7 separate regions of the Homo sapiens genome follow, and regions 2, 3, 4, 5, 6 and 7 are each linked to region 1. Evidence: promoter capture Hi-C in 16 types of primary human blood cells and fetal thymus (Javierre and others, 2016). All regions are on one chromosome and are shown on one strand. The core of a region is centred on a gene start or on the middle of the fragment in contact, and the rest is flanking DNA. Distances in the headings are between cores, read along the strand shown. Region 1 holds the start of MRPL19 (mitochondrial ribosomal protein L19). Region 2 holds the start of M1AP (meiosis 1 associated protein). Region 3 has its middle 34 kb from the start of SEMA4F. Region 4 has its middle 390 kb from the start of LRRTM4-AS1. Region 5 has its middle 54 kb from the start of SEMA4F. Region 6 holds the start of HK2 (hexokinase 2). Region 7 overlaps HK2 (hexokinase 2).

What was found. Contacts are between HindIII fragments. The CHiCAGO score rates a contact against its expected background, and 5 or more counts as called.
Region 2: the fragment with the promoter of M1AP here is called in contact with the fragment with the promoter of MRPL19 in region 1 in 2 of 17 cell types (activated CD4 T cells and naive CD4 T cells); the score reaches 6.4 in activated CD4 T cells.
Region 3: a fragment that was not itself captured here is called in contact with the fragment with the promoter of MRPL19 in region 1 in 1 of 17 cell types (M0 macrophages); the score reaches 5.9 in M0 macrophages.
Region 4: a fragment that was not itself captured here is called in contact with the fragment with the promoter of MRPL19 in region 1 in 3 of 17 cell types (M1 macrophages, M0 macrophages and megakaryocytes); the score reaches 5.2 in M1 macrophages.
Region 5: a contact is called between a fragment that was not itself captured here and the fragment with the promoter of MRPL19 in region 1, in 2 of 17 cell types (M1 macrophages and naive CD4 T cells). The highest score is 5.5, in M1 macrophages.
Region 6: the fragment with the promoter of HK2 here is called in contact with the fragment with the promoter of MRPL19 in region 1 in 2 of 17 cell types (naive CD8 T cells and activated CD4 T cells); the score reaches 7.6 in naive CD8 T cells.
Region 7: a contact is called between a fragment that was not itself captured here and the fragment with the promoter of MRPL19 in region 1, in 8 of 17 cell types (non-activated CD4 T cells, naive CD8 T cells, total B cells and 5 more). The highest score is 15.0, in non-activated CD4 T cells.

What each region holds. Positions count from the first base shown.
Region 1 is chr2:75,644,653-75,648,659 of GRCh38, forward strand. MRPL19 (mitochondrial ribosomal protein L19) reads left to right here and starts at 2,131. Exons shown (of 6, transcript NM_014763.4): 1 at 2,131-2,258; 2 at 2,450-2,567. The coding sequence starts at 2,156. RefSeq lists enhancers at 1,931-2,225, 2,061-2,360. The HindIII fragment of the contact is 2,636 bases long and covers 1,943-4,007 here.
Region 2 is chr2:74,646,367-74,650,373 of GRCh38, forward strand. M1AP (meiosis 1 associated protein) reads right to left here and starts at 1,964. Exons shown (of 11, transcript NM_001321739.2): 1 at 1,899-1,964. The HindIII fragment of the contact is 10,572 bases long and covers 145-4,007 here.
Region 3 is chr2:74,686,013-74,690,019 of GRCh38, forward strand. It overlaps a transcript of SEMA4F not described here. Among named protein-coding and RNA genes, the nearest start is that of SEMA4F, 34 kb to the left of the region's middle. The HindIII fragment of the contact is 974 bases long and covers 1,199-2,172 here.
Region 4 is chr2:76,596,096-76,600,102 of GRCh38, forward strand. No RefSeq gene overlaps it. Among named protein-coding and RNA genes, the nearest start is that of LRRTM4-AS1, 390 kb to the right of the region's middle. The HindIII fragment of the contact is 2,178 bases long and covers 1,082-3,259 here.
Region 5 is chr2:74,705,924-74,709,930 of GRCh38, forward strand. It overlaps a transcript of SEMA4F not described here. Among named protein-coding and RNA genes, the nearest start is that of SEMA4F, 54 kb to the left of the region's middle. The HindIII fragment of the contact is 4,799 bases long and covers 1-4,007 here.
Region 6 is chr2:74,832,211-74,836,217 of GRCh38, forward strand. It overlaps HK2 (hexokinase 2), which reads left to right and starts at 1,917. Exons shown (of 18, transcript NM_000189.5): 1 at 1,917-2,433. The coding sequence starts at 2,371. It overlaps HK2-DT (HK2 divergent transcript), which reads right to left and starts at 1,777. Exons shown (of 1, transcript NR_185897.1): 1 at 445-1,777. RefSeq lists silencers at 1,409-1,478, 1,659-1,888, 2,809-3,058 and enhancers at 2,635-3,511, 3,289-3,358. The HindIII fragment of the contact is 22,379 bases long and covers 1-4,007 here.
Region 7 is chr2:74,848,986-74,852,992 of GRCh38, forward strand. The region is part of intron 1 of HK2 (hexokinase 2); the gene reads left to right. Among named protein-coding and RNA genes, the nearest start is that of HK2, 17 kb to the left of the region's middle. RefSeq lists an enhancer at 971-1,110. The HindIII fragment of the contact is 2,014 bases long and covers 693-2,706 here.

The DNA of each region.
Region 1 (4,007 bases), core at 881-3,380:
ATACAGAAAAATCTTCACCACTGCCAGTCATGATTATCTTTGCCTCTCCTCCCTTTTACTCTTAAGGGCTTGAAGTCTACTTTTTCGGGTAGGTAGAAGAGCCAAAATATTGCTCATCTGAAATTTTGGTTGTGAGATTCCTTGTCATTTATAGAATAAATTCTTGTTCTAATCAAAGAAGCTAGAGTTAAAATAGAAGGCCCTGTCTTTCTTCACAGCATCTTGAATTCTGTGCTCAAAACATGGCCCTGTTCCTCAGGCTGATGTAACAGCTCATGTTCTTCAGGATGGCAAGTCAGAGTATAGAGGCCAAGCTGCAGAGGTTGGTTGCTTTTATGAGCATTTGACTTCTGTCAAAAGTAAACAGTAAGGCTTTAAACTGGGGAAAGGAAAGAACAGGGTATGCATTTCTGAGCCATCTTTTTTTGGTTGCTGCGTGAAGGACTGGAGGTAACCAGAGGCAAGAAGACTAATGAGAAGGCTGTTGCAGGGATCTCCAGGGATCCTGAAGAGAGAAAATATGTTGACCTAGATTGGAAATATGGATGGGAGGATGAGAAAGTATATGGATTCCTGAGATATTTGACGGTGTCAGGCATAGTTTTTGGAACTTCATCCAGGAGGAGACAGGGAGGAATCAAGAATGGCACTGAGATTTTTGGCTTAGGCAAGAGAGTGGATGCTGAAGCCATTCCTTGAGATAGCCAATACTGGGAAGGAAGTCTGGAGCTGAAAAAGATGAACTCAGTATGGATAGGCTGAATTTGAGGTAGCTTTGGGACATTAATGCAACTGGAATGACTATTATGTAGTTAAATTATCACATTACTCTAAGTGTTCAATCCTTATATAACCACTGCTGAAATAACAAATTCCAAATTTCTTTTTTTGTGTGTGTTTCTTTTTCTGTTTTTTTGAGACGGAGTTTCGCTCTTGTTGCAATGGCGCGATCTCGGCTCACTGCAACCTCTGTCTCCCAGGTTCAAGCGATTCTCCTGCCTTAGCCTCCCAAGTAGCTGGGATTACAGGAGCCTGCCACCACACCTGGATCATTTTTTTTATTTTTGGTAGAAACGGGGTTTCACTATGTTGGCCAGGCTAGTCTCAAACTCCTGACCTCAGGCGATCTGCCCGCCTCGGCCTCCCAAAATGCTGGGGTTAAAGGCGTGAGCCACTGCGCCCGGCTGTGTGTTTGTTTCTTAGAGATACGGTCTCACTATATTGCCCAGGCTGGTTTCCAACTCATGAGCTCAAGGGACCCTCCTGTCTCGGCCTCCCACAGTGCTGGGATTACAGGCATGCCTGGCCACGCCCAGTCATTTTCCAAATTTCTTAACAAGACTTACAATTTACCTTTTCCAGCTTTACTTCTCCCACCTATCCATACCCACAGTTGCCCAGCCCAAATTCATTTGGGTTCCTCAAAGGGTTAATGCTTTGTGTAGTCTCAAGGACTATGGGCCAGCAGTTCTGTCAGGAACTATTCTATTCTCTTTTCTGTGCATTCAGCAAAGAATTAGAAAAATTAGCTGGGCGTGATGGTGCGAGACTGTAGTCTTGGCTACTCGGGAGGCTGAGGTGAGAGGATCTCCTGACATCAGGAGTTGGAGGCTGCAGAGCCATGATCGCGCCACTGCACTCCAGCCTGGGTAACAGAGGAAGACCTTGTCTCAACAAAACAAAAGATGTTAGTGAGGGCCCAGGTAGGTGCTAGGTGCTGGGATAACATGGTGAGCAAAAAGAAGACTTTATCCCTTCCCTTGCCTCATTATAGTATAATGGCAGATTTAAATACTAATCTAATAATTACACAAGAAAGAATTGCAAATGAGATCAGAGCTGCCAATCGAAGGCACCCAGTGGGAAAGACGGCCTACAATGGGATTTTCGCATAGCGAAAGCTTGTCTGAGAAGATAGAGTGGATTCATAGGGGGAGGAAAAAGCTTTCTAGGCTGGGAGAACACCCCTGTGGAGGGGTGTAACTTGGCGCATTACGAGGAACTAGAGAAACGTGCACTTTTCCTAAGACATCAGGAAAGGAGCGAGGAGAGACTTATCCATTTTGTCCCATAGCAGCCGCCATATGGTGGCAGACAGCAACAACCTCGTCGCACTGATTACTGGGAGCTGTAGTCTTGACGTGAGCTAGCTGGCATGGCGGCCTGCATTGCAGCGGGGCACTGGGCTGCAATGGGCCTAGGCCGGAGTTTCCAAGCCGCCAGGACTCTGCTCCCCCCGCCGGCCTCTATCGCCTGCAGTAAGTGGAGCCGGACTTGCGAGCTGGGGCGCGTTAGGGGCCCAGGGTCAGGATGGGGGAGGCGAACCTGGAGATCAGAGGCAACCCCAGCGTTGGTCCCCCGTGGGACGCCGGGTTGGGGGAGATTGCGGGGCTCTGCGGGATCTCAGGGTTGGCACGAGAGTTCTGACCTCCGTCGTCCGCTCCCGCAGGGGTCCACGCGGGGCCTGTCCGGCAGCAGAGCACTGGGCCTTCCGAGCCCGGTGCGTTCCAACCGCCGCCGAAACCGGTCATCGTGGACAAGCACCGCCCCGTGGAACCGGAACGCAGGTGAGGCACTGCCCTGGCGCTAGGCCGGCAACTGGGGTCGGTGCGCGCGTGAGCGCGTTCGCGTTCGAGGTCCCGGCTCTAAGGTGGGGGCTGCACCTCCCCCTGCACGAGCAGGTGTGTAGGATTCAAGAGCCAGCGCACCACACTGTTCTTTCTTTCTCACTTCTCCCCAAGCCAGCATTGAACTTCTTTGCAGTTTTATTGAGTCAGAACTTCAAGTAGGGGTTCCCCATATTTTAAACTCTTTTCTCTGTGGTATTTGTCCTGTACCAGAGTTTTTCTCTGAGGTATATCCTGTTTATACCTGTTTACGTCCAAGAGCTCTTCTTTTCTCTCAAAAGACCCTTAACCCTGGATAGGAATCGATTGGCCAACTTAAAAAATTTGCTATGGTTTAGGTTGGAAGTTTTGGCAGACAAAGCACAGTAAAACTGGCCACTAAATTGTGTCTGAAACTTACTCATCAAAATAGTGTGAATAAAAACTTATATGAATGGTGGTAATCTTGGAGGTACATGTAAATTTAAAGGACTTAAGGTCTGAAAAGAGAGCTATGTAGCAACCTTTTTAAAAAGCCAGTTTTCAGAGGAAAAACCTGATATGATTATAGGCTTTTTGAAAGGGCTGTAGATTATTGATTGGATTACTTCTGGGATTTTTAATTTTTTTATTTTTTAAATTTTTTTTAGACAGAGTCTCTCTCAGTCTCCCAGGCTGGAGTGCAGTGGTGATTTTAGCTCACTGCAGCCTCAAATTTCTGGGCTCAAGTGATCCTCCCGCCTCAGGCTCCAGAGTAGCTGGAACTACTGGTACCACGCCTGGCTTTTTTTTTTCTTTTCTTTTTTTAACATTTAAAATATTCCACGGATTTAAATAGAAGTAAACTTGGAGTTAGAGAACTAAGAGATTCAGAAAATATTTCTTCATAAAACTTTGCTTTTGAGGGTAGAAATGGAATATCTCTTTTAAACAGTGGCATTTAATAGAATTCACTTAAATAGGAATGTAAATTATATGCTCTAGAGAACAATTTGACAGAATTTACTAAGTTTAAGTTGTGTATACCTTCTCACTCAGAAAGCACACAACTTAAACTCCTAACGTGTATGTACAAGGAGACAAGCACGAGAATGAATGTAACAGTATTTTTTGTAACAAAATTTAGAGGCAGCCTAGATATCCATCAGTAGGTGAACAGGCAAATACATTCATATGACAGAATATTGTATAGCAGTGAAAAATGAGTGAATTAGAGCTCACTTTTAAACATGGAAGATTTTCACAAATCTGTGTGTAAAAAAAACCTTTAGAATCATTAATGTAGTAGGATGCTATTTTTATGAAGTTTTAAAACTATAGGCCGGGTGCGGTGGCTCACGACTGTTATCCCAGCACTTTGGGAGGCCGAGGAGGGCAGATCACGAAGTCAGGAGTTCGAGA
Region 2 (4,007 bases), core at 714-3,213, 1.0 Mb before region 1:
GAGAGTGTTGACACTGCCTCCACCTGATAGACTCTAGAGAAGCAGCCAGAGGAATTTAGTGAAGGCAAACTTATCAACATACTTGAGGAAAGTCATTGTGATGAAAAGGATGAAGACATCCTACAGAAAGGGCCACTGGCAAAAAGCTTCATTATTAAAGAAACTTTCAGAGATATTTTACAAAATTGAAGGTACAAAGGATAAAATGTAGGAAACTAACCCAAACTTAGAAAGAAGTATGTCAGTTTGCCAAGACACACAAAAAATGTTTGCTCTCTCATAAGTTTTACTATGAGAGTTTTTTTTCAACAAATAAAACACTTTAGCTCTCAATGTTTCTAATGTTTTAAGTTAGTGTATGAAATAGTTTTACTGTTTTACATTTCCCTATACAGTTAGTAAGAAAGTTTTAGTGTTTTGACAATTTTTCAAGGTTATAGAACAACTGTAATTTTTCCCATTGGTGTTTAAGATCTCTTTGAATGGTTTCAGCTTGCAGTCATTTTTCAATCCCACACTAATGTGCAATTGGAAGACTGTATTTTAAATGAGGTAAGAGGCAGCTCTCTTCCTTACATCCTCAAACATCATCAATTCATGCATCTGATGTGTCTGGGCATAGTACTAAACAGGCTCTGACCTTATTCTGACCCTATACTCTCCACTTTTGCCAAGAACACTCGCTTAATGAATTCTCCCTGCAAACTGGTTAAAACTGGAACTGGGCCTTGAACCACTCCAAACCACCAAGTTATGCCCAAACTAAAAACCCTCCAAGGACTTCCAATTACACCACTGGAAACAGAATCCAATATCTTTACCCTGGCCCTAAAGTTCTGCTTGTGCCTTCTGCCCAACTCTCCATCCTCACACTAGGCCCTCCCCTGCCCGCACCCCGGGAGATCCACCTCTCACAGATCGGCTTCTCGCTGTGTCTGCCTCTGCGGATGTTCTGTTCCGTGCTGAGCATTCTAGGTTAGGGCCCCTTTACAAGCCCTCATTCACTTTGTCGCGTGATAAACGATTCAATGGTTCTCCCTCTGGCAGGGCCCTATTAAAGATTTCGTGGGCCCTAAGGCACTTTCGTCTTCGTGGACCCCTTCCTCCATTAAAAAAAGATTAAAAGAAGTTAATGGATTTTGTAGGCCCTAAAAATCTCATTTCCCCCTCCTGATGTGAGAAAAAAATCAAAACACTTTCTTTGACTTCATGGGTTCACTTTAAACGAAATGAAAACATTCTCGTGGCCGGGCACGGTGGCTCACGCCTGTAATCGCAGCACTTTAGGAGGCCGAGGCGGGCGGATCACGAGGTCAGGAGTTCGAGAGCAGCCTGGCCAACATAGGGAAACCATGTCTCTACTAAAAATATAAAAAAATTAGCCAGGCGTGGTGGCGGGAGCCTGTAATTCCAGCTTACTCGAGAAGCTGAGGCGGAGAATCACTTGAACCCGGGAGGCGGAGGTTGCAGTGAGCCGAGATCACGCCATTGCACTCCAGCTTGGGCAACAAGGGTGAAACTCCGTCTCAAAAACAAAGCAAAACCAGAAGAAAAAAAATTCTCGTGGCTCCCTGAAGCCTCCGTGGTCCCTCGGCATGGCGCCTACCGTGCCTGGCGGATCAGCAGCCCGGCCCTCGGGCCTGGGGGCCCCGCGGAGGAAGCTCCGGGCCCAGACTCCGCGCAGGCCTGGCCGCCCAGAACAGTATGCGGAGGGATGACTCCGACAGCGATTTCGGAGCCTCTCTCGGCGTCAGTCTTGCGCCGGCACCCGCCACGGCCAGCGCAACCAACACCTGCCTGAGGACTGGCCCGAGCTCGGCCCACGCCCAGCCCAGCCTGCGAAGTGGTGCCGGCTGCTCTCGGGCTGCCCTCCCTCCCCGAGGCGTGGAGAACCGTACCTGTCTTCGGAAGACGGAGGCCCCCTCACCTGGTCCTCCCGGCTCTCAGCGTGCGCCCGCGCGTTCGGAGGCGCCCCCCTCAGGCCGGCGCGGCTGGGCGGGAGGCTCACTGCGGGCAAGGCGGGGCCTGGCTGCCTCAGGGTGCGCTTCAGGTGGCGCTTCAGGAAAACGGTCTCCAAGTCCCTAGATACCCTGAGAACAGTCCTTCTTTGTCCCTTAGGTAGAATTTTGTCTATTTGTTGGAAATGCTGTGCTAAACCTGACATTTTTCTTTTTCTACCCCTTCCCATGAAACATGCCAGTAGCTCCCCCACCGACCGTTTTCTTGGTTTTAACTTTTCCCTTCCACATCATTTCCTTCAGCCAGTCGCTATTTTGTTCACTAAACATCTGTGGTGGGCACGTTATGTGCCACGCATTGTGCTAGGATTGGAGTACAGTGGATGTACAGACAATGGTCACTGCCCTCATGGAAGTTATAGCTGCCTTCACAAAGTTCTTTTAAGTCTTTTCAAACTCCTGTATTCCAAGAGGGTCTGTCGCTCTCTTCATACTCATTCTCGCTTACTTGAGGTTGATTCCCATAGTCCCTTTGACGAACTCCAGATGGGGTAGGAGCGTCCTGGTCCTTAACAGTTGGTTGGTCTGGGTCTTCAACTCTGGTTAAAAAGGAATTCTCTGAATTAGTCCACAGGAGAGGGAAAGATAATGCTAGTTCCAAGCTAGAAATGTACAAGCAGTTTTCCTTGTTTTCTTTATTATTATTATTGTTATTTTCTCAGTTCATTGTCTAGATGCAGGTTGGAGGTGGGGTGGGGCAATATTTCAATGAGTGGCACAGGATAGGTTAGATGTTTCAACAGGAAAAGAGTTGCCTGCTTGTATTCTAGTCCCACTAAACCATTTTGCTCCTATCAACTGTTCCTCAGGTAAGAACAGAACTATTTAACCTATGTCCTTTTTTAAACACTATAATCTGATATTCAATAGAGTTCCTGTGTTTCAGTTTAAAGGGTAGCTTCTCAACAGCTCTTTCCCCCCATATAGTCCAAATTAGCCTTTCTGTCTCTAATCTCCAGATTATCGTTTCCACTGATGTTAGAATTGTCCTTGTAAAAATATTTTGATCATATCATTCTTTGTCTTAAAAATGGCTTATGTTTCCTTTTCGGTTAGAGGGTCCATTATAACTGACCCCACCTACCTTACTAGGCTCAACCCCAGCATTACCTGTCTTACTCCCCTTTGTGTTGCTATACCAGAATACCACAGAACAACTAACTTGTAAATAAAGGAAATGTATTCTTAAATTCTGGAGGGTAGGAATTCCAAGGTTGAGAATCCCACATCTAGTGAGGGCATTTTTTCTGTGTCATCCCATGGCAGAAGGCAGAAGGGCAAGGGGTACAAAAGAGCAAGACAGCAATAGGGAGCTGAACTCACTTTTACAACAAACCCACTCTCTCAATAACTAACTCATTTCCAAGATAATGACATTAATTCATTTATGGGGGCAGAGCCCTTATGGCCTAATCACCTCTTGTTAGGCCCCACCTCTGAACACTATTCCATTGGGTACTAAGTTTCCAGCAAATGAACTTTGGGGGACGCATTCAAACTTGAGCACTAGCCTCACTCCAAACCATACCACCCATTGCTCCTACCTACTATTAATTTCTTTCCGTACCCTCTATAGCATTTATTAAAAATATGCAAAGAACTGTACCAGAAATGGGGACTATGACATAAGAATTGTTTTCTGAGGGTGATAAACTATAATGGTCATGAGAAAGCACCTTGCAGACTTTAAACTACAAGGAGTGTAACTGACCAAGGGCATCAGCTGCTGCCTTAGAAATCTACTGCCACGACTGGGCTCCGTGGTTCACGCCTGTAATCCCAGCACTTTGGGAGGCCGAGGCGGGTGGATCACCTGAGGTCAGGAGTTCGAGACCAGCCTGACCAACATGGAGAAACCCCATCTCTACTAAAAATCCAAAATTAGCCGGGCATGGTGGTGCATGCCTGTAATCCCAGCTACTCGGAAGGCTGAGGCAGGAGAAACACTTGAACCCGGGAGGCAGAGGTTGCGGTGAGCCAAGATTGCAC
Region 3 (4,007 bases), core at 436-2,935, 960 kb before region 1:
CCATCTCACGCCAATTAGAATGGCGATCATTAAAAAGTCAGGAAACAACAGATGCTGGAGAGGATGTGGAGAAATAGGAATGCTTTTTTTTTCTTTTTTTTTTTTGAGACAGAGTCTTGCTGTGTCACCCAGGCAGGAGTGCAGTGGCGTGATCTCAGCTCACTGCAAACTCTGCCTTCCGGGTTCACACCATTCTCCTGGCTTAGCCTCCCGAGTAGCTGGGACTACAGGCGCCTACCACCACGCCCGGCTAATTTTTTGTATTTTTAGTAGAGACGGGGTTTCACCGTGTTAGTCAGGATGGTCTCAATCTCCTGACCTCGTGATCTGCCCGCCTCGGCCTCCCAAAGTGCTGGGATTACAGGCGTGAGCCACCATGCCCGGCCAAGAAATAGGAACACTTTTACAGTGTTAGTGGTAGTGTAAATTAGTTCCACCATTGTGGAGGACAGTGTGGGGATTCCTCAAGGATCTAGAATTAGAAGTACCATTTGACCCAGCCATCCCATTACTGGGTATATACCCAAAGGATTATAAATCATGCTACTATAAAGACACGTGCACACGTATGTTTATTGTGGCACTATTCACAATAGCAAAGACTTGGAACCAACCCAAATGTCCATCAGTGATAGACTGGATTAAGAAAATGTGGCACATATACACCATGGAATACTATGCAGCCGTAAAAAGAATGAATTCATGTCCTTTGCAGAGATCTGGATGAAGCTGGAAACCATCATTCTGAGCAAACTATCACAAGGACAGAAAACCAAACACTGCATGTTCTCACTCATAAATGGGAGTTGAACAATGACAACACATGGACACAGGGCGGGGAACATCACACACTGGGGCCTGTTGGAGGGTGGGGGGCTGAGGGTGGAATAACATTAGGAGAAATACCTAATGTAAAAATGATGAGTTGATGGGTGCAGCAAACCAACATGCACCCTAGAACTTAAAGTATAATTTAAAAAAAAAAGAAGAAAAGAAAACTAAAGATAATGTTGTTCCTTCCAAATGAAAACCTTCCTATCACTTCCCGTTACAATTAGAATGAAATCCAAATCCTCTGTTCTGATTTACAGAGCCTCACATGTTAGGACCTCTGTCCATCTATCTAAACTATTTTTACTTTCCCCTCACTCAGGAGCAACAGCCACACCAACCTTCATTCAGCTTTCTAGATACACCAAGCTTGTTCCCAACTAGGGAGAACTAGTTGTTTCCCCTGATCTTTGCAAGTCCTTCTGGTCAGTCAGGCTTTATCTTAAACATTGCCTCCATAAAGAGGCCCACCCTGATTACTCTGTATAAAGTAGCTCCCAGTTACTTCCTATCACATCCTCCTATTTTAATTCTCAGCATAGCATATCATCAATTTGTATTTTCTTGTTTGCTTAGTTTAATTATTTTCCTTCTTGTTAGATTGCAAACTCCATGAAAGCCTGAACTATGGCTTTTTTGTTCACTGTTGTATCCCCAGTGCTTAGAACAGTGAACAGTGCCTGACACATAGTAGATGCTCAATATTTATTGAGTGAATGAATATGGCCATTGCCGAGCTGACCCACTGGGTAATGGAAAGAACGCAGGTCCTGCTGAGAGGCCAACACCATCCACTGGTCAGTACTCCTGTAGGAGGCCACTTAGCTCCCAGCTCCTGTGGTTCTGCAGTACCAAGTGGCAGCCCCTGGGATCCTCTGCTCATAGACTCATGGTTTTCAAGGGATAGCTTTAGGGTGTCCTTCTCCTAGACCTCAAATGACCTCTCCCTGTCTGTGTTCCGAACTCCATCCTGGACCCTTCTTTGCTTTGGGCCCTAATTTGTGTCTGGTTGTCCACAGGTAGGTCCTCTCTGCTCTTTCTTTCAGAGTGAAAGAATCAAAGTATCCCTGGAAGGCACAACACCACTTTGCAAGCATAAATTCCCTAATCATAGTTGCCCTTAATAATAATAATAATGCCCTAAAATATAATCATCTACTAGATATGATGTGGGCATTGAGCTAAACATTTTTTACATCAAACTCAATCTCAGAAAGACTGGTGGTGTTAGCCACATTGTCGGCCAGTGAAACTGAGGCTCGAAGGAGAAATAACTTGCTCAGGTCATACAGTTAGTTTGTAGCTGAGTTGTGACTAAAACCCAGGTCTCTCGGATTCCAAAGCTTGTGCTCAGAACCCCTGCAGTGTACAAAGTACCCAAATAGTGCCCATTACAGATCAACTTCCGAGAACTGGGTCTTGCCTTCCTAGAGTGGAGTGGTGTTTCCTCCTTCACTCATTGTTCATTTCATATATATAAAACAGAACATGATCATATTTCAATACGTAACTTCTGTACAACCAAAAATTAAAACACCACATTAAAATAAATGAGAAAAACATGGTATTTCATTTGCAATACTTGAAAAAATGTTAACATTCTTAATCATAAATGAGCTTTTAGAAATCAGTAACAGGCTAACATTACAAGGGAAATGAAAATAAAAGAAACAGGAAAATGAAATAATACACATGATTAATAAGGTGATATGAAGATGATGTAGCTTAACATTAATAGATGAAAAAGCAGTTTCTTTGTAATATTACATTATCAATGATCACAAATACAGAAATCTAACATTTGTATAGAATTTTAGGAAATAGGGAACTCTTAAACACTGGGAAAATTTACTCCAGTTTTGGGAAATTTACTCAAAATTTAGATCTTGTATGTACTTTGCCCTGGCAGTTCCAATCTGTAGGAATTATTCCAACGGAGTAGTTGGACAAATTGAATTTTATGTATAAGTATGTTTCTTACATAGAAAATCTATAGCTAATTTATCACCCCCAACTACTTATGTATCAATTGATTTAAAAAAATAGATTGGGGGGTGTTCATTAAATATTAATTTAGGTCTATTTAGGTCAGGTTCTGGGCTAGATTCTGGAGACACAAAAGTGAATAAGACATAGTCCCTGTCCCCTTAAAGCTCATAATTCAAGGATAGGCAGATGAGTAAGCAGACAGCAACACACTTTGAAAGGCGCTATTGTTAAGGTGTGTTCCAAATCTGAGGAACCCAAAGATACCTCATTCTACTGACCTCTCTTCTTAACTAGCAGCTTGAGAAACAGGTTTGGGATGCCAATCAAAGCATTTGTACCACCTAACCAGACTCCCCTGAAGCTACTGAGACAGTCTAATGTAGTGTAGTCTAGTGAGACATATACATGCCTCATTTTGTCTTTTGTGTATATCAAATTTTACATAATAAAACACTTTAAAATAAGATGTTTTTCTGTCTATGGAACCAGAAAAAACAAGAAAAAAAGGTTGGTGACCTTGTGTGCTCCCCAAACAAGGATTTGTGGAGAGTGGGCATTCTATACTATTGTTGGAAATGAAATTAGTACACACTCTATGGAGGGCATTCTGGTAATATCTATTGAAAACTTTAAAGTGTATATATCATTTGATCCAGTAATTACACTTTTAGAAATTTATTTTAAGGAAATAGCAGTATAAGTGTGCAAAGACATACTTCTAAAGATTTTTATTTTTATAATAATTATAAGCCTAAAATGTTGGGAAAAAAATCAATTATTCAACAAGTGAAATTTGGTTAAATAAGCTTCAGTATTGACCTGAAAAAATGTCCACATTGTTAAGCAAAAAAGGAGGAAACAATAAGAAAGAGAAAAGTGTTTCCTGACAGACAGGAGCTGGCCTGGCACTCATAGCCAGGCCTCAGTGTTTTCCTATTGAACATAAAGGATTTCATAGAACACCAACATCAGACAAGGACACTCAGTGCCAATGATGAAGAAAAAAATGAGATCACTCTATAATCATGTCTCAACACAGGCAAAACAGGTACATTGTCCAGACCACAAAATGACCGAGCAGCCTCCTGTCCTGGCTAATAGGAATGACTGGTGCTTCTTTACCAGTTCTTCACTGGCTTTAGCCTTGCAGCAGTCTTCCCTCCTTCCGGATGAGAGTTATTAAGATA
Region 4 (4,007 bases), core at 921-3,420, 950 kb after region 1:
TCTGAAAGCACAAACAACAAAGGCAAAAATAGACAAATGGAATTACAGCAACAAGAAAACCTTCTGCACAGCAAAGAAAACCATCAACAGAGTGAAGAGGCAAAATATGGAATAGGAGAAAATCTTTCTAAACCATACATTTGATAAGGGGTTAGTATCCAAAATATATAAAAAACTCAAACAACTCAAAAGTAAGAAAAAACACAATTAGAAATCAGCAAGTGATCTAAATAGATATTTCTCACAAGAAGACATATAAATGGCCAACAGGTATAGGAAAAAATGTTCAATATAACTAATAATTAGAAAAATGCAAATTAAAATCACAATGAGATATCACCTCACACCTGTTAGAATGGCTATTGCAAAAAAAAAAAAAAGTGTTGGAGAGGATGTGGATAAAAGGGAACTCTAGTACACTGTTAGTGGGAATATAAATTGGTACAGCCATTATGGTAAACAGCATGGACATTCCTCAAAAAATTAAAAATAGAACTATCATGATTTAGCAATTTCATCTCTGGCCTTTTACCAGGGTAACTGCGCATTGAGGAAAGGGAAATGATCAGACATTTCACGGACTACTGGACACTGGCTCTGAGCTGATGTTGATTCCAGGGGACCCAAAACGTCATTGTGGTCCTCCAGTTAAAGCAGAGGATTATGGAAGTCAGGTCATTAATGGAGTTTTAGCTCAGGTCCAACTTACAGTGGGTCCTGTGGGTCCCCAGACTCATCCTGTCATTTCCCCAGTGCCAGAATGCATAATTAGCATGGACATACTGAGCAGCTGAAAGACCCCCACACTGGCTCCCTGACTGGTAGGGTAAGGATCATTATGGTGGGAAAGGCTAAATGGAAGCCATAGTAAATAGTAAATCTATTTAAAAAAATATATATTTTATACATATATAATAAAATAAAACAATGTAGAATCCCTGGAGGGACTGCGAGATTAGTGCCACCATCAACGACTTGAAGGATGCAGGGGTGGTGATTCCCACCACATCCTCATTCAACTCTCCCATTTAGCCTGTGCAGAAGACAGATGGATCTTGGGGAATGACAGTGGATTATCATAAGCTTAACCATGTAGTGATTCCTATTGCAGCTGCTGTACCAGATGTGGTTTCATTGCATGAGCAAATTGACACATCTCCTGATACCTGGTATCTAGCCATTCACTTGGCAAATGGCTTTTTCTCCATTGCTGTCCATAAGGCCCACAGAAGCAATTTGCCTTCAGTTGGCAAGGCCAGCAATATATCTTTGCTTTCCTACCTCAGTGGTATATCAACTCTCTGGCTTTGTGTCATAATCTTATTTGGAGAGAACTTGATCGCTTTTTGCTTCCACCAGATATCACACTGGTTGGTTACATTGATGACATTATGCTGATTGGATCCAGTGAGCAAGAAGTAGCAGACACACTGGACTTATTGGTGAGATATTTGTGTGCCAGAGTATAGGAAATTAATCAGACTAAAATTCAGGGACCTTCTACCTTAGTAAAATGTCTAGGGGTCCAGTGGTGTGGGGCTTGTCGAGATAGTCCTTCTAAGGTGAAGGATAAGTTGCTGCATTTGCTCCCTCCTACAACCAAGAAAGAGGCACAGCACCCAGTGGCCCTGTTTGGATTTTGGAGGCAACACATTCCTCATTTGGGTGTGTTACTCCGGCCCGTTTATCTAGTGACCCAAAAGGCTGCCAGTTTCGAATGTGATCCAGAACAGGAGAAGGCTCTGCAACAGGTCCAGGCTGCTGTTCAAGCTGCTCTGCAACTTGGGCCATATGACCCAGCAGATGCAATAGTGCTTGTGGTGTCAGTGGCAGGAGGATTTTAATAATCAAGTGGATAGAATGACCCATTCTGTGGACACCACTCAGCCTCTTTCCCCAGCCACCCCTGTCATCACCCAATGAGCCTATGAACAAAGTGGCCATCATGGCAGGGATTCAGGTTATATCTGGGCCTAGCAACATGACTTCCACTCACTAAGGCTGACCTGGCTACAGGTACTGCTGAGTGCCCAATTTGCCAGCAGCAGAGACCAACAATGAGCCTTCGATATGGCACCATTCCTCAGGGCGATCAGCCAGCTACCTGGTGGAAGGTTGATTATATTGGACCTCTTCCATCAAGGAAAGGGCAGAGGTTTGTCCTCACTGGAATAGACACTTACTCTGGATATGGGTTTGCCTGTCCTGCATGCAATGCTTCTGCCAAGACTACCATCCATGAACTCACGGAATGCCTTATTCACCATCATGGTATTCCACACAGCATTGCCTCTGACCAAGGCACTCACTTTATGGCCTTCATGACTAATTCATATTTCTAAAGGAAAGTGAAGAATGACTGATACCACTTTCAATTTTATCCATTATCTATTTTAGCTTCTGATAATGTTCAGATTAATCACCTCATTGCTGTATTCTGCATTTTGCATGATTGAGATTTCACATTAAGAAGGCCAAAGGACTCTAGTTCTGTGAATATTAATGACTAGGTTGGCTTGTTAAATTATTTTTGCCAAGTTACCTTTGGCTTTTAATAACCATTAACAGTAGAAACAGTGGTCATATACTTTTCAGATAGAGTTTTCTGTAACCTTCTCCTGGGGAATAAGAGTAACTGAGAAAAACTATCATATGGGATGAGAAGAACTTTTTGAAAGCAAAGGAAGAAGGTCATATTGTCTACTTCAGTTCAAAAACAAAATTTTCAGCCCAAGTATCCTTAATGGCAGAGAGGAGTTAAACATAGACTGGAGGAACTGAGAACGGAAGCCCAAAGCTGATTTTTCCAAGATTTAATTGGCTTTATTTTTTCTGTGAAAGTTGTAAAACAATCCTGAGGTAAATTTACAAAATTCAAAAAGCACACATGCACAATTAGTGGCCCACAACTAACAGATCCATATATATTATCCTAATCTTGTTTCTGCATGTAAGTACATATTTTTAATTAATTAATTCATTCATTATTAAGAGCTACCTCTGTTCAATCTAGATCAGCAGCTCTCAACCAGGGCACCTTTGCCTTCATAGGACATTTGCAAATATCTGGATAAGTTTTTGCCTACTGATACCTAGTGTGTAGAGGCCGGGGATAGTACAGAACATCCTACAATAACAAGACATCCTCTCACATCAAAAAATTATCCATCCCCAAATGTCACTAGTGCTGATGTGTAGAAACTTTAATGTAGATGCTAGGAATTCAGTGGTTTATAAAACAAAGTTGCTGCTTTTATGAAGCTTTTCTCTGTTTGAGTAGTAAACAAATACGTAAAATGGAGGCAAAACATGGGACTTATGGGAACTACAAGATGAAATTTGCATCGGGACACAGAGCCAAACCATATCAGACAGCTGAATTAGAAGCTGGGATTCAATATTGTGATTATTCAGGTCAGTTTTTTTTTTTTTTTTTGCCACCAAATCTAGAGTTTTTATTTTCCTGTTCTATTGTTCAAGAAATACCCCAGAGGGCTGTCCAACTACTTCATTAGTAAAGACACCATGATCAACTAGCAACTGCCAAATAACTCTCCAGGCCAAAGCACTCTGATTACTGCTATGTGCCTGCTTCCCTTTCCAGTAGACATACCCCTCTTGTATTTTGTGGTTAAGCCTGGCCTCTGCTACTCCTGGATTTCATCAACTCCATTGAAATCAGGGAACCCTTCTCAGTGGTAGGAATCTTAGGATCATACCTGACTTACTAAAAGTACACAATTTGAGGTGCTTAGGAAGCTCTTGGCCGCTAGTTGCTGCTAGACACAGTGCAGTGCAGGAGCCTGGCCAGAGCAACACATCAAAACCAGAAAGTAAGTTGTCCTCTTCAAGTGTCCCTCTAGCGCCATCTACTGATAGTTTACATTGTCCTGGCTGTCAAAGAAGGAATATTTACAGGGTCCAAATTCTTCATCATAGAAAAGACAACTTGAAGCTAAGGGGCAATAAATTGATAACTAGCATACCTTCTACTGTAAAAGTTTAAC
Region 5 (4,007 bases), core at 560-3,059, 940 kb before region 1:
TGGTGTTTGGAGGTTACAAGTTATTCTCTATTTTCTTTTCTTTTTTTTTGTATATTTTCTGATTCCTTTATGGTTAATGTGAATTAGTCATGTAATTACAAGCCATTTTAATTTGCATTAAATTACTAGTAACACATTTTAGGCTTTGGGAATTCAAAAAATGAATAAGAGAAGGAGAAACAACATTTATTGAATTTTTTTTAACATTTTAGGCAATGAGCTGAATCCTTTGTATAATTTAATTCATTTAATTTTTACCATAATTGCATGGGATATTATGTTTCCAGTTTACAGATAAGGGAACTGAGGCTCATAGAAGATTAGAAACTAGCCTAAGATTGTACATTCAGTGGGATTTGAAACCAGATCTGACGCCAAAGAACTTATCGATATTCATACAGGTTTAAAATTTTTCCATGACACCACAGGAGCTTGCAGTATTAGAGGGGCTCAGAACCCACAAACCCAAAGACTTCAGGTCCAGGCAGACCCAGATCAGTGGCTCATGAGTGAGACAAACATAGGGTCATGGAGATGCATAGAGGGGAGATCTGGCTGCATAATCAGGGAGTGAGATCTGATGTGAACTTGATGTCAGATTTCAGGAATCAGCAATTGAGGCTAGAGCTTTTCCCGAAGGCCAAAGAATGTGGGTGCAGTGGCAAGGAGGAAGAGTAGGGACAGATGGGTTGTCTGGAGTAGACGTGGGGAAGTTTCTGACACAGGCAGTACTGGACAAGGTTGTCTGCACGAGGTTTGTTGATTCATATTTCACGGTTAATCTCTTTGCATTTATTTATTTTATAGCATTACCACTTTTGTGTCATTGATTTTCACTTCTGAGTTTGCCTATTTGTTTGAAATCTCTTCATCTCATTTCTATTAGTTTTTATACTCCATTGAGCACTTCTCAGTGAGTGAGCATTTTCACTTCACACTCATCAAAGAGCCAAATGAGGAGAGGAGACACCCTAACTGCAGGGATTAGGTAGTAGGCTTCAGAGGCAGTGACCAAGCAGGATCCCTGGTAGGCCACTCCCTCTCCTCTGCTACCTGGAAGCAGAACAAGGCTGGATCTCACCCTTCTGCTACCTGCATTTAACTAACTAGGAAGTCATATGGGTTATATTTTAAAATATATTTTAAAAATATGTATCTGACAAATGCATTTCATGATCCTAGATTGGATTCTGGGTTGGAAAAAATTACTATAAAGTACATTGGCAAAATTTGAATGTAGGCTATATATTGTATAATAGTTTGTTATCAATGCTAAATTTTCCAAATTTGTTAATTATACTGTAGTTATATAAAAAGATCCTTGTTCTTAAAAGACAGATGCTGAAGTATTTGGGGTTAAGGAGCATGATGTCAGCAACCTATTCTTAAATGGCTAGGCAAAACCAATAATAATGTGTGCATGTGTGCAGATTATCTATTTATCTATCTATCCATCTATCCAACTATCTAGAGAGAAATAAAACAAATGAGGCAAAATATTAACGACTGGTAAATCTAGGTTAAAGGTATGTAAATGTTCATTGTATTCTTGCAGCTTTTATGAAAGTTTTTTTTTTTTTTAAAAAGGTTAACAATTTCTCTTGAAGACTTCTGCTTCTGGCCAAAGTGGAGTAATAGGTTCAGATTTGCCCTCTTGCCTGAAACAATAACAACAACAACAACAAACACAATAAAGATATATGAAGGAATGGTTTTCAAGACATGGACATCAGGTGACAAATGACAGTGATTCCTGGGAGTTGAGGAGAGTTTTACAATTGCTCCAGCTTACAGCCCTGAAGAAGTTCCTAGGGCACAGTTCAGGAAGGTGGAACCCAGATGGAGCCTGGAAAATGCTCTGAGTTGAGGAAACAGAGATAAGAGTATGGGGAGACCAAAGCAACTAGAGTTTGCAGGATAGATGATGGAGAGGAGAGAGGTGCACAGAGAGAGCCCAGGAGATCCTCAGGGGTCTCCTCAAGATCGGTTCAACTAAGTACCAATCAGCACATGTGTGTGAGGAAACCATCTGCGAGGATTAGAAGCAGCGCTGCTCAGTGCTCACTCAGGGCTGAGAACAGTGCCAGTTCCCACCTGCCAGATTGGAAAGTCCCATGATTCCTGGGGCACTCAGTAGTTTGTACAGAAGGTCCTTGCCTCAGAAGTGGGCAATAAATAACCCTAGACTGAGCACTTCTCAGCACCCTTGAAAAAAAAAATCATAAAATCAAAACCTGAGGATCCAACTGTTTCCAAGTAGTTTAACTTATCCCAGAGCAAAGTTCAAAAATATATATAGGAATCCAAAAATATTTAACACCCAGCAAAGTACATTTACAATGTCTAGTATCTAAGCAAAAATTACCAGGTATGAGAAGAAGTAGAAAAATATGACCCATATTAAAAAGGAGCCTAGGCTTTTCCCCTCACTCAGCTGTGATGAGGCACCCCAACCCTTCCTTGCTGGGGTGATGTGCCCTGTAATGACCTTCTCCTCAGTGATTATGTCAGTGAAGGCCATGTGGGGACCTGGAACTCTCACCCTCACCAGCTGTAATGAGACACTCTACCCCAGTGGAGTGTCCACAGAGGCCAAGTGAGGACTGTGGACTTACACAACCACCTGGCAATTATGAAGCAGCAGTCCCCTTTCCTGACTGGCACAGTGTCAGACAGGGCCTGCTAAAACAGAAAATTTAAATAAGATATAATGTCTTATATAATTCCCCCAAAGCCCAGGAATTAATAGAAAATCACTCATCATGTCAAGAACCAGGAAAATCTCAACTTGAATGAGAAAAGACAACAAATGCCAATGTTGAGATGACACAGATGTTGACAAAAATTTTAAAGAAACCATTATAAAAATGCTTCAATGAGTAGTTATAAACATGCTTAAAACAAATTTAAAAATAGAATGTCTCAGCAGGAAAACACAAGACATAAAGAGGAGCCAAATAGGCTGGGTGCGGTGGTTCACCCCATTAATACCAGCACTTTGGGGTGCTGAGGTAAGAGGATCGCTTGAGCCCAGGAGTTTGAGACCAGCCTGGGAAACATGACAAATTCCTGTCTCTACAAAAAACACAAAAAGAGCTGGTGTGGTGGTGCGTGCCTATAGTCCCAGCTAACTCAGGAGGATGAGGTGGGAGGTTGGCTTGAGTCCAGATGGCAGAGGTTGCGGTGAGCTGTGATTGCATAATTCAAGAAGCTAATGAACCTCAAACAGAATAAACTGAAAAGAAATCCATGACAAAGCACATCATAATCAAACTTCTGTAAAACTAAGACAAGACAGAATGAGAGAAATGACACCTTGCACAGAGAGGGAAAATAATTTGAATGACAGAAATTTTTCATCAGAAACTGTGGAGGCCAGAGGGAGGCATCACACATTTTTCAAGTCCTGAATGAAAAGAACTGTCAGCCCAGAATCCTAATTCAGTGAAAATGTCATTCAGGAATAAAAGGGAGATTGCCTAGCTATATTAAAACATTATAATTTAGCCTAATGTAATTTTCTAGGCAGTTTCAGTCAGTTTTTTGCTACTCTCTGATGTTCAAGATAGAAAAAGTTATTTTACAAGCAAGCTGAATACAAAATAATGGAAATAGTTTGTAAAACCAGTATATATTATATGCCTATATTGCACATGTTAAAGCACTCCATTATAATACAGTATGTAATCTACTGTTTTTGAACGGTTTTGTTCAGCATTTGGCTATTTAAAAAATATTTATAAAGAGATTTATTTCTTTCAGTTCTGGAGGCAGGAAAGTCCAAGGTTGAGGGGTTCACATCTGGTGAGGGCCTTCTTGCTGTGTCATCCCATGGCAGAAGGTGGAAAGGTAAGAGGGCATGTGTGTATATGTGTGACGGGGTGGAAAAGAGCGAGAAGGAGAAAAAGAGAGAGAGAAGTAAGAAGATCAAAATCACCCTTTTATCAGGAACCCTGTTTTATCTGGGAAACATAACAGCATTAATCCGTTCATGAAGGCAGAGGCCT
Region 6 (4,007 bases), core at 667-3,166, 810 kb before region 1:
AGCAAACAGGGACTCAGGAGCCTGGGGAGTGAGGTTAGCCAGAAACCCTCAGAGTGGAGCACTGGTGCTCTTACTGAGAGAGGAAGGTGTGTCCAGATGGAGGATGTGATTAACTGTCCTCAACATCCCTGAGAGAAGGAGTAAGACAAGGGCAGGGAAGAGAAGAGAATGCAAGATTTGGCAACATGTAGGTCATTATGATGACTATGACAAAAGCAGTTTGAGCTCAATTCTGTGTGGAGTATAGGGAAGGAGGGTTGAGGACGTGCATTTAGAAGGGTACATAGTTCTCAAGAAGTTTTGCTGAGCACATCTGTAATCCCAGCTATTTGGGACGCTGAAGTGGGAGGACTGCTTGAGCCCAGGAGTTCAAGACCAGCCTGGGCAACATATCGAGTCCCTGCTTTAAAAAAAAAAAAAAGGAAGTTTTGCTGAGAGGCTAGATGGATTATGATTTTTGTTTATTTTTCCTGTTTATCCATATATTATTTTTCAACAATGAGTATTGATTACTTATATAATAATTTTAAGGCTGTACACATTGCAGACAGCACCCCACTGTTTGAAAAACTCCTCCTCAGTAGAACATGGCAGACCTTCATCTTCCTTCCCTGAACCTTTTCCAACCTTAGGCTTGCCATTCTCCACCAGTGCTAATGTCATGTCTCTTGAAATCTGTATTGAAGTCAGTATTTCATTCTTGCCAGTTTCCACTGTGTGTTTAAATTTGGAGTCTGGTGTCTAGCATTAGCTGGGGTTGGAGCTTCCACTCCTCTCAGCATTGGTAAGCCTCCTCACCCACCCCATCCCATGTCCAAGATCACCCAGTTACACACTTACCATCTACCCAGTTCATTCACATCATCAGTCCCAGAGCTGCAGAGATGCTCTTTTTCTACCTCCTACTTCTCTGGCTCTTAGAGAGGCAGCATGGGATAATGGGGCAAGCGAATAGGGCCTTAAAGTAGAGGGACAAGGGTTCTCTTCCCTATCTGCCACTTATTAGCTATGTGACCTCGTGTAAGTCTCTTTTCTTTTTGAGACAGGGTCTCCCTCTGTCACCTAGGCTGGAGTACAGTGGTATGATCATAGCTCACTGCAGCCTCGAACTCCTGGGCTCAAGCTATCCTTCCACCTTAGCCTTCTGAGCAGCAGGGACTACAGGCACATGCCACCATGTCCGGCTGATTTATTTATTTTTATTTGGGAAGATGGGGGTCTCACTATGTCGCCCAGGCTGGTCATGAACTCCTGGTCTCAAGCAACCCTCCAACCTTGGACTCCCAAAGTGCTGGGATTACAGGTGTGAGCCCTGGCCTTGCCTCAATTTCCTCATCTGTAAAACGGGGTTAGTGAAACTCACATCCTATCAGTGGTTTTGAGGATGGGCCGACTCTTGTATTGCCTGCTCTAGTACAATCAGCAGCTAAGGCGGCTCACTTTCCGGCCGTGCTACAATAGGTAAGAACTAGGATGCTTTAGACGTGTGACTGGGCAGTGGGAGCCCCTCACATGATCCCGAGATGCCAGACAGTGTCTCTCCGCACAGGGCGTGTGCTGGTCCAGAGGCCCGTTTTTCCAGTCGCCCCACACCCCGGGTCCGCGATCACGCTCCCCCCACCCATAGCCGAGCCTGACGCGGCGGTGGCTCATGCGCCTTTCCGTCCCAGCCTTTAGCCACGGACCACACGTCCCATCTCAGGCGCCCCGCCCCTCCCCCGCCCCCCGCCCCCGGCGCGCCTCCCCAGGCTGCCGGCTCCGGTGTCTGAGCGGCCGCGCCCGCGAGCCGTGAGCGATGATTGGCTGCGCCACGGCGGCGGGCGGTCCGTGGGCGCACACACCCTCCCCGCGCAGCCAATGGGCGTGCGCACGTCACTGATCCGGAGGCCCGCGGGCCGGCAGCCCCTCAATAAGCCACATTGTTGCATGAAACTCCGGCGCAGGAGTCCCGGGCTGCCGCTGGCAACATCGTGTCACCCAGCTAAGAAAATCCGCGGGCCCGAGCCACGCGCCTGTGAATCGGAGAGGTCCCACTGCCCGAGTGGAGCCGGGCTGAGATTCTTCTCAAGTTGAGCCTCAGTGATCCTGTGGCCGAAGTTAGCGCCTTGACGTGGGACAACCGGACACGTCGCCAGGAGAGAACTGAGGCGCCTTCTAGCAGTTGTGACGCCAAAATCACGTCTCCGGAGACCCGCGCCCTCCGCCAGCCGGGCGCACCCTCGCCGGTAGCCTTCTTTGTGCGCCGTCCGGACTCCCAGCTCCCGGCCCGGCAGCCGAGCCCCAGCACAAAGCAGTCGGACCGCGCCGCCCGCCTCCCCTCTCGCGTCTCCGCCTCGGTTTCCCAACTCTGCGCCGTCGGGCCGCGGCAGGATGATTGCCTCGCATCTGCTTGCCTACTTCTTCACGGAGCTCAACCATGACCAAGTGCAGAAGGTAAGTCAGCGCGGGCGGGGCGGCAGGCTGGGCTCTGGCAAAGTGGTCTGGCCTCCATCAGTCTCTTCCTCGACCCTGCGGGGACCCGCTTCCTCCCTACTCCGGGCCTGGGAGCGGAAAAAGTTTGGGCAGCCGGGACACTCCTGGGCGCCAGGAGCCACGTCCGCTAAGCACAGCCGGCGAGTGCGCGCGGGCGGGGAGCCGAGGTCGCGCTCCGCCGGGCGCCCTCCCTCCCTGAGCTCCGGCACGCGCTCACGCTCTCTCCCCCAGTCCCTTTTTCCCTGTTACTGGAGGGGCGGGTCACCCCGCAGGTAGTCAGGGATTGCTGCGCCCACGTGGGAGGGAGCCCCCTTCTGCAGCGCGAGTTCCGGCGAGAGCACGTGGAGAGAATCGTGGCTGCGGGAGGCTGCTCCGCTGCCGCGTGGGGCCGCCGGGGGCCGTCCGCGCTCGCGGACCGCGTGTAGGAGACGAGCGGTTCCCTTCTCCTTCCCCGCGGCCCTGCGGGGGTGGGCTCGAGGAGAAGCTGACCCGGGAAGGAGTAGGAAAGGGGCAGAGGAACTCCGCCCGCCGCGCCCCCTCCCCGGAACTGTGGCGCCCGGAACTGAGGCTCGGCGAGGGGCGTCCCCCATTAACCCCCGCCCCTCCAAATCAGCCTCGGGACCGCCCAGCCTCGTGTCCTCAGGATCTGCCTCTGAGTAAGGGGAGGACTTTGGTTGTTACTTTCTGGTTTGCCCTAAAAGTTACTCGGAGAGGCCAACGCGCCGCGTTCCTGGATTACTTGAGATTCTTGAGATTTATGTCCTTCCGAAAACGAGCTTTTTTTTCCTTAAGCCTCGACCTGTCTGTTCCCACCTGGCTCCGCAGCTCCCTATGGCTGAGCGCTCACCGCGGCCGGGTCATTTACATAAGAAAGAGCCTCAGGCCAAGCCGGGAAGCTCTCATTCCCCGCCTCGGGGTATGGGGGTGGGGATGGGGCCGGGGCCGGGGACGGGCAGGGCCAGGGGCGCGCTCAGAATTGAGTTTCTGAAATGCCCGGGATTAGGGGATTGGCTCCTGGCCCGGGCCTGGGCTACGATTTGAGGTAGGGGACAAGTTGGGAGGGGATTAGCTGGAGGGAGGTTGTTTTAAGAGCTGTGAGGCAACGGAGCGTTGCTCAGTTACATACTTGGAATTTCAATATCTGATGGGAACACATTTTTGGGAAAATGTCTTGCCATTACCGTTCTGTGCGACAACCTGCTCATATTCCCATTCTGGCGGTCCCGAGGGCATAGGAGGCATATTAATGTAGTGATGGCGCGTGAACCTCCAAGAAAAGCAGAAGTTACCCAGCCTCAAGTCTGGAGGAGCGAGCAGAGGCGGTTGATTTACTTGGGTTTTACTGTTTGTAAATGGCTGTTATTCTCTAATTCCTGGGATGTGGCTCTGCACCTTGATTCAGTTTACTTAAAAACGTGCCTTTGATTTGAGCTGGCAGGATCTTGGTAACTTCTCAACTTCTAAGAACTCTTGGGGAAGGCTATCATCTCTTGGCAAGTCCTAAAATACACAGTGGAGCGTCATTAATCTCAGGG
Region 7 (4,007 bases), core at 450-2,949, 800 kb before region 1:
TTTCCTTCCTGGGCTTCCCCATACCTGGCCAGGACTGTGTATGGCCCACCCTGCACACTGCATACTTCGAAGTGGAGCCTCCATGAATGTCCCCTTTTGTTCTCTCCATTTGTTGCTTTGTGACAGTGACACAATTTCCTCTCCTTTTTTAAGTGCTGGTCTGGAGGAAAATGCAGGTACTTAAGGGGATGGGTGTTAATGGCTTCCCATTTTGGGTATTATCTTATTTCCTAGAGAGTATGGGGTTAATTTGTCTTTAGGGCTTCCCCTGACACCAACCCCAATTCTGTAGAGGAAGTGGGCATGTCAGACTGGTATGTTATGGGAAAAACTGAAACTGACCAAAATTACCCAATGAGGAAGCTCTGATCTAACCCTTGCTGAAGAAATATCAACTAACAGTGCTATCTCTGTCTAACACGCCCTCGCTTCCTGGGCTGGCAGCTTGGCAGGCAGACGGGAAGGTAACCCGTTCTTCAGCCAGGCTTTGCTCTGGCCTGCCTCCGATTCCCCAGCCTGGAATGCCCCCTCCTCCTTTCCTCCTCTCCCAGATAGAGATTTAAAGAGAAGCAGCCTTGTCCATGCCCATCACAGAAAGAGAAGGAATAGTTTGGGGAAACAGCCTCTGCTTTGTGACTAAGGAGGGTTGAGAAATGTCTGTGATTGCCTGAAGGTGACCCTGGGTGGAGAGAAGCTTTAGAAGAAAGAAGGGGTGGAAGGAAAGGGGGGGTGATAGAGAACTCTTTTGTCCCCACAGTTATGCTAATGACTCTGTCATGTGGGGCTATTCATCCTGTTTTGTGGCAAGGAAGCTGGGGTTCAGATGAAGAGTCCTCTAATGTCGCACACCTGTACGAACGCTACCACTAGGATTTGCATACTGGTGTTTCTGATGCCAGAGCACTCCTTTCACCACCACCAGCTACAAATCAAGGGTTGACCTGAATGAGTCTGCTTTGATAGTATCCAGAAACTTACATCTCTTAAAAACAAATGCAGAGTTTGTCTTCCCAACTCCCAGCAGGCTGGATCAACACAGGATTACTTCACAGGGTCACACCTGGCCTAATATCTTAACCACCGACTCTCAAAGATTCCAGGCAGAAAAGTGATATGCAGTGTTGATCAGAACAGGGCCAACCACGATCACGTTATTGGCATATTGGAAACCTCCCAGAGGAGAGGGGAAGGTGTTTGAGCCCCAGCCTTAGAGGTGTCATTTGGTTAGTCTGGAATGGATCCTTGGAATTCTTACTGTTTTCTTTAAAAGCTCCTCATGTGATTCTGATGTGCAGCAAGTTTGGAAACTCTTATCACAAGTGACAGAATGGAGATTAGGCAGAAGTATCAGAAAGCAGATTTATCTTTGATTGAGGAAACTCTTTGAAACAAGTAGAGCTGTTCAAAAATGGAATTTAGAGAAATAGCGAGCCTCTCAGGCTTGGAAGTATTCAAACCTAGGCCACATGACTATCAATTGGGTGGAGAGAGACAAACTAGATAAATTCGAATACTATGTTTAGTGGGATTTTCGAACTAGTTACCCTAAGGGCCTTTCCTTTCTATGGATGAATACTTTTCAGCTGCAGTCCCACTGCTGTGTGTACATCTGCTATCACCTGCTTGGCTTTCTCCTTTGACTTTGGGCCTGGTGCTCCCTCCCACTGATGGCACTGTGGGTGAAAGTTGGCAAGATTCTGAAAATTGCATTCATCTCCTTCTCAATCCAGGAAAATCATCTTTGTATGGTGGCTGCTTCTTGTTTCTGACTTCTGCTTCCCTTGGCTACCAACACAGCAGTGCCTACCAGGGCTGGGTGGGCTCCACTGGTGTGTTTAGGAAACTGTGGCATTAAGTGATTATTAATTATCCCTTCCTGAGTGGCCCTAATAAGCTGAGTGGACACATCATCATGCCCTGGTGCCATCTGTTCTCAAGTTTTGAGAGTTCAAAGAGCTCTGATGTGAAAGAGGGGAAGTTTGGGCCAAGCTACTGGCCTGGACATTTTTCACTGTTTCATATCCACAGCTGTTTCATATCTTCTCTCTTAGTCTCCTCATGTGATGGAGAGGAAAATAAGGTCCCAGGGTCATCCAAGAAACCACAGGGCAGGCTGGGAGTGCCCATCCACACTAAGAGGGGCCCACAGGACAGGCGAGGGTGGCTGTCCTGACGGCCTGGCAGTGGGGCCAGACAGACCTCTGTGGAATCCCATCTCTGCCCCTCATTACCCAAGTGATCTATAAAACGGAGGTGCAGAAGTTTTACGAAGACAATGGAGAACAGGTCAGGAAAGCCGGAAGTGCCTGACAGGTGAGAAATGCTTGAGGAATGCTTAGCCGCTGTAACCATCACCCCATTACTGTTTTCATCTGTCATTGAACATGTGGAAGATGGTTATCTATGGGGCAAAAGGCAACGTGGATAAAGGGTGACTGTTTAACTCGATTCTTCAAGGGTTGAGGATGAGAAGTGTCTGACTGGATTTCCAACATGTCTTGAAACAGTTTAAACATCGAAGATAAACTAAGATTGGCTGTCGTAGAATTTGCTTTTTTGTGTGCATAACCTCATGCTTCTGGACATGATGATAGGACCATTTAATGAGGTGGAACAGGCTCAGCTCCTCAGTGCAGGAACTCCTGTGCCCTTTGCAAACACCTGAAGCCTTCCATAGAGGGTGGAGGTGGGGCGGGGGCACCAAGAAGCTTCTGGGCCTCTCTTCTCTTTGGGAAAGTAGTGAGGTGAGAGTGTCTTTGTCAGGTGTCACCCTCATGACAATGTTCAGAGACATGTCTGCTGCCCCAGACCTGCTCAGTCACCTCTGTGTGCCTCACTCTCCACTGCGTGCTGTTCATGTCTGCATTGGGAGGTGACTGGAATAGAAGATGGCCTTTTAATGGATATGGACAGCCTGCATTCCCTGCAATGCTGTTTGACCTGTATAGACCCTGCTGTATCCAGGCAGGCAGGGGGCAGTCATCTAGCAGAGTGGACAAGAGCACAGACCAGCCAAACTTCTCTATCAAGCCAAACGTGGCCCCTCGTGTCTGTGTGACTTCCCCTCTCTGTAGAATAGAGATGCTGGCACTTCCTACCTCAGAGGGCTGTTCTAAGGATGAAATGAACTAATGGGAGCAAACCCGGAGAATAGGATCTGGCACAAAGCAGGAGCCACGTGAGGGCTTGCCATTATTACAGTTGCCCATGAGGACATCTCAGGCTTTTCCTGGATGTGGCCTCGCATTGGCTTCTGGTCTGGGTAGCCCCAGACTTTGCACATTAGCCCTGAGATGTGAAAGTTGTAATGTAGCATTCCTGGGCCAGTCAGTGTCTCATTGGATCTGGAGTGGGAAGCCTCCAGGGTGGTCAGAGTTACCCTTGAACTAGGGTCACTGGAGATGGCTAGAGATTTGTCTGACACTTCACTGAAAAGAAAGGGGCCTTGTCTAGTGTCAGGCTGAAGCTGCACCCTTTTTCCTCCTGGGGAGCCTCAAATGTCCTTGTTGGGGAGGCCCAGGCCTCCTCAGGAGCACCTTGGTTCCCAGATATTGTAGGAACCAGAGATCAGAGACCCAGCTTGTGGGATGGAGGGTGGGGGGCTAGTGCCCCACAGCCCTGGAGGTTGTGGTAGATTCCAGGAGTTGGAAACAAGCTGGGCAATATAGCAAGACCCTGTCTCAAAAATAACAATTAAAAGATTAAAAAAAAAAAACAACAAAAAACGAGTGAGAGTTATCTGATGCTTCTCATTCTCCTGGTATTAAATCTGGGAAAAGTTCATGTGAATTTATGTGGGAAACAGGATCAGTGAAAGAACTAGGGAGAGTTGCCTCCGCATGAGCACAGAGGCTGCATTATCATTTACATAGAGCCTCTCCATTGTGCCAGGCACCGTGCCAGCCTCCAGGTATGCAAAGGTGAACAAGCAGACATTGTTCTAGCCTTTGGTACTTATGATTTGGACCCTAATAAATATTTAGTTCCAAATTGTGGATAGTGTTGCG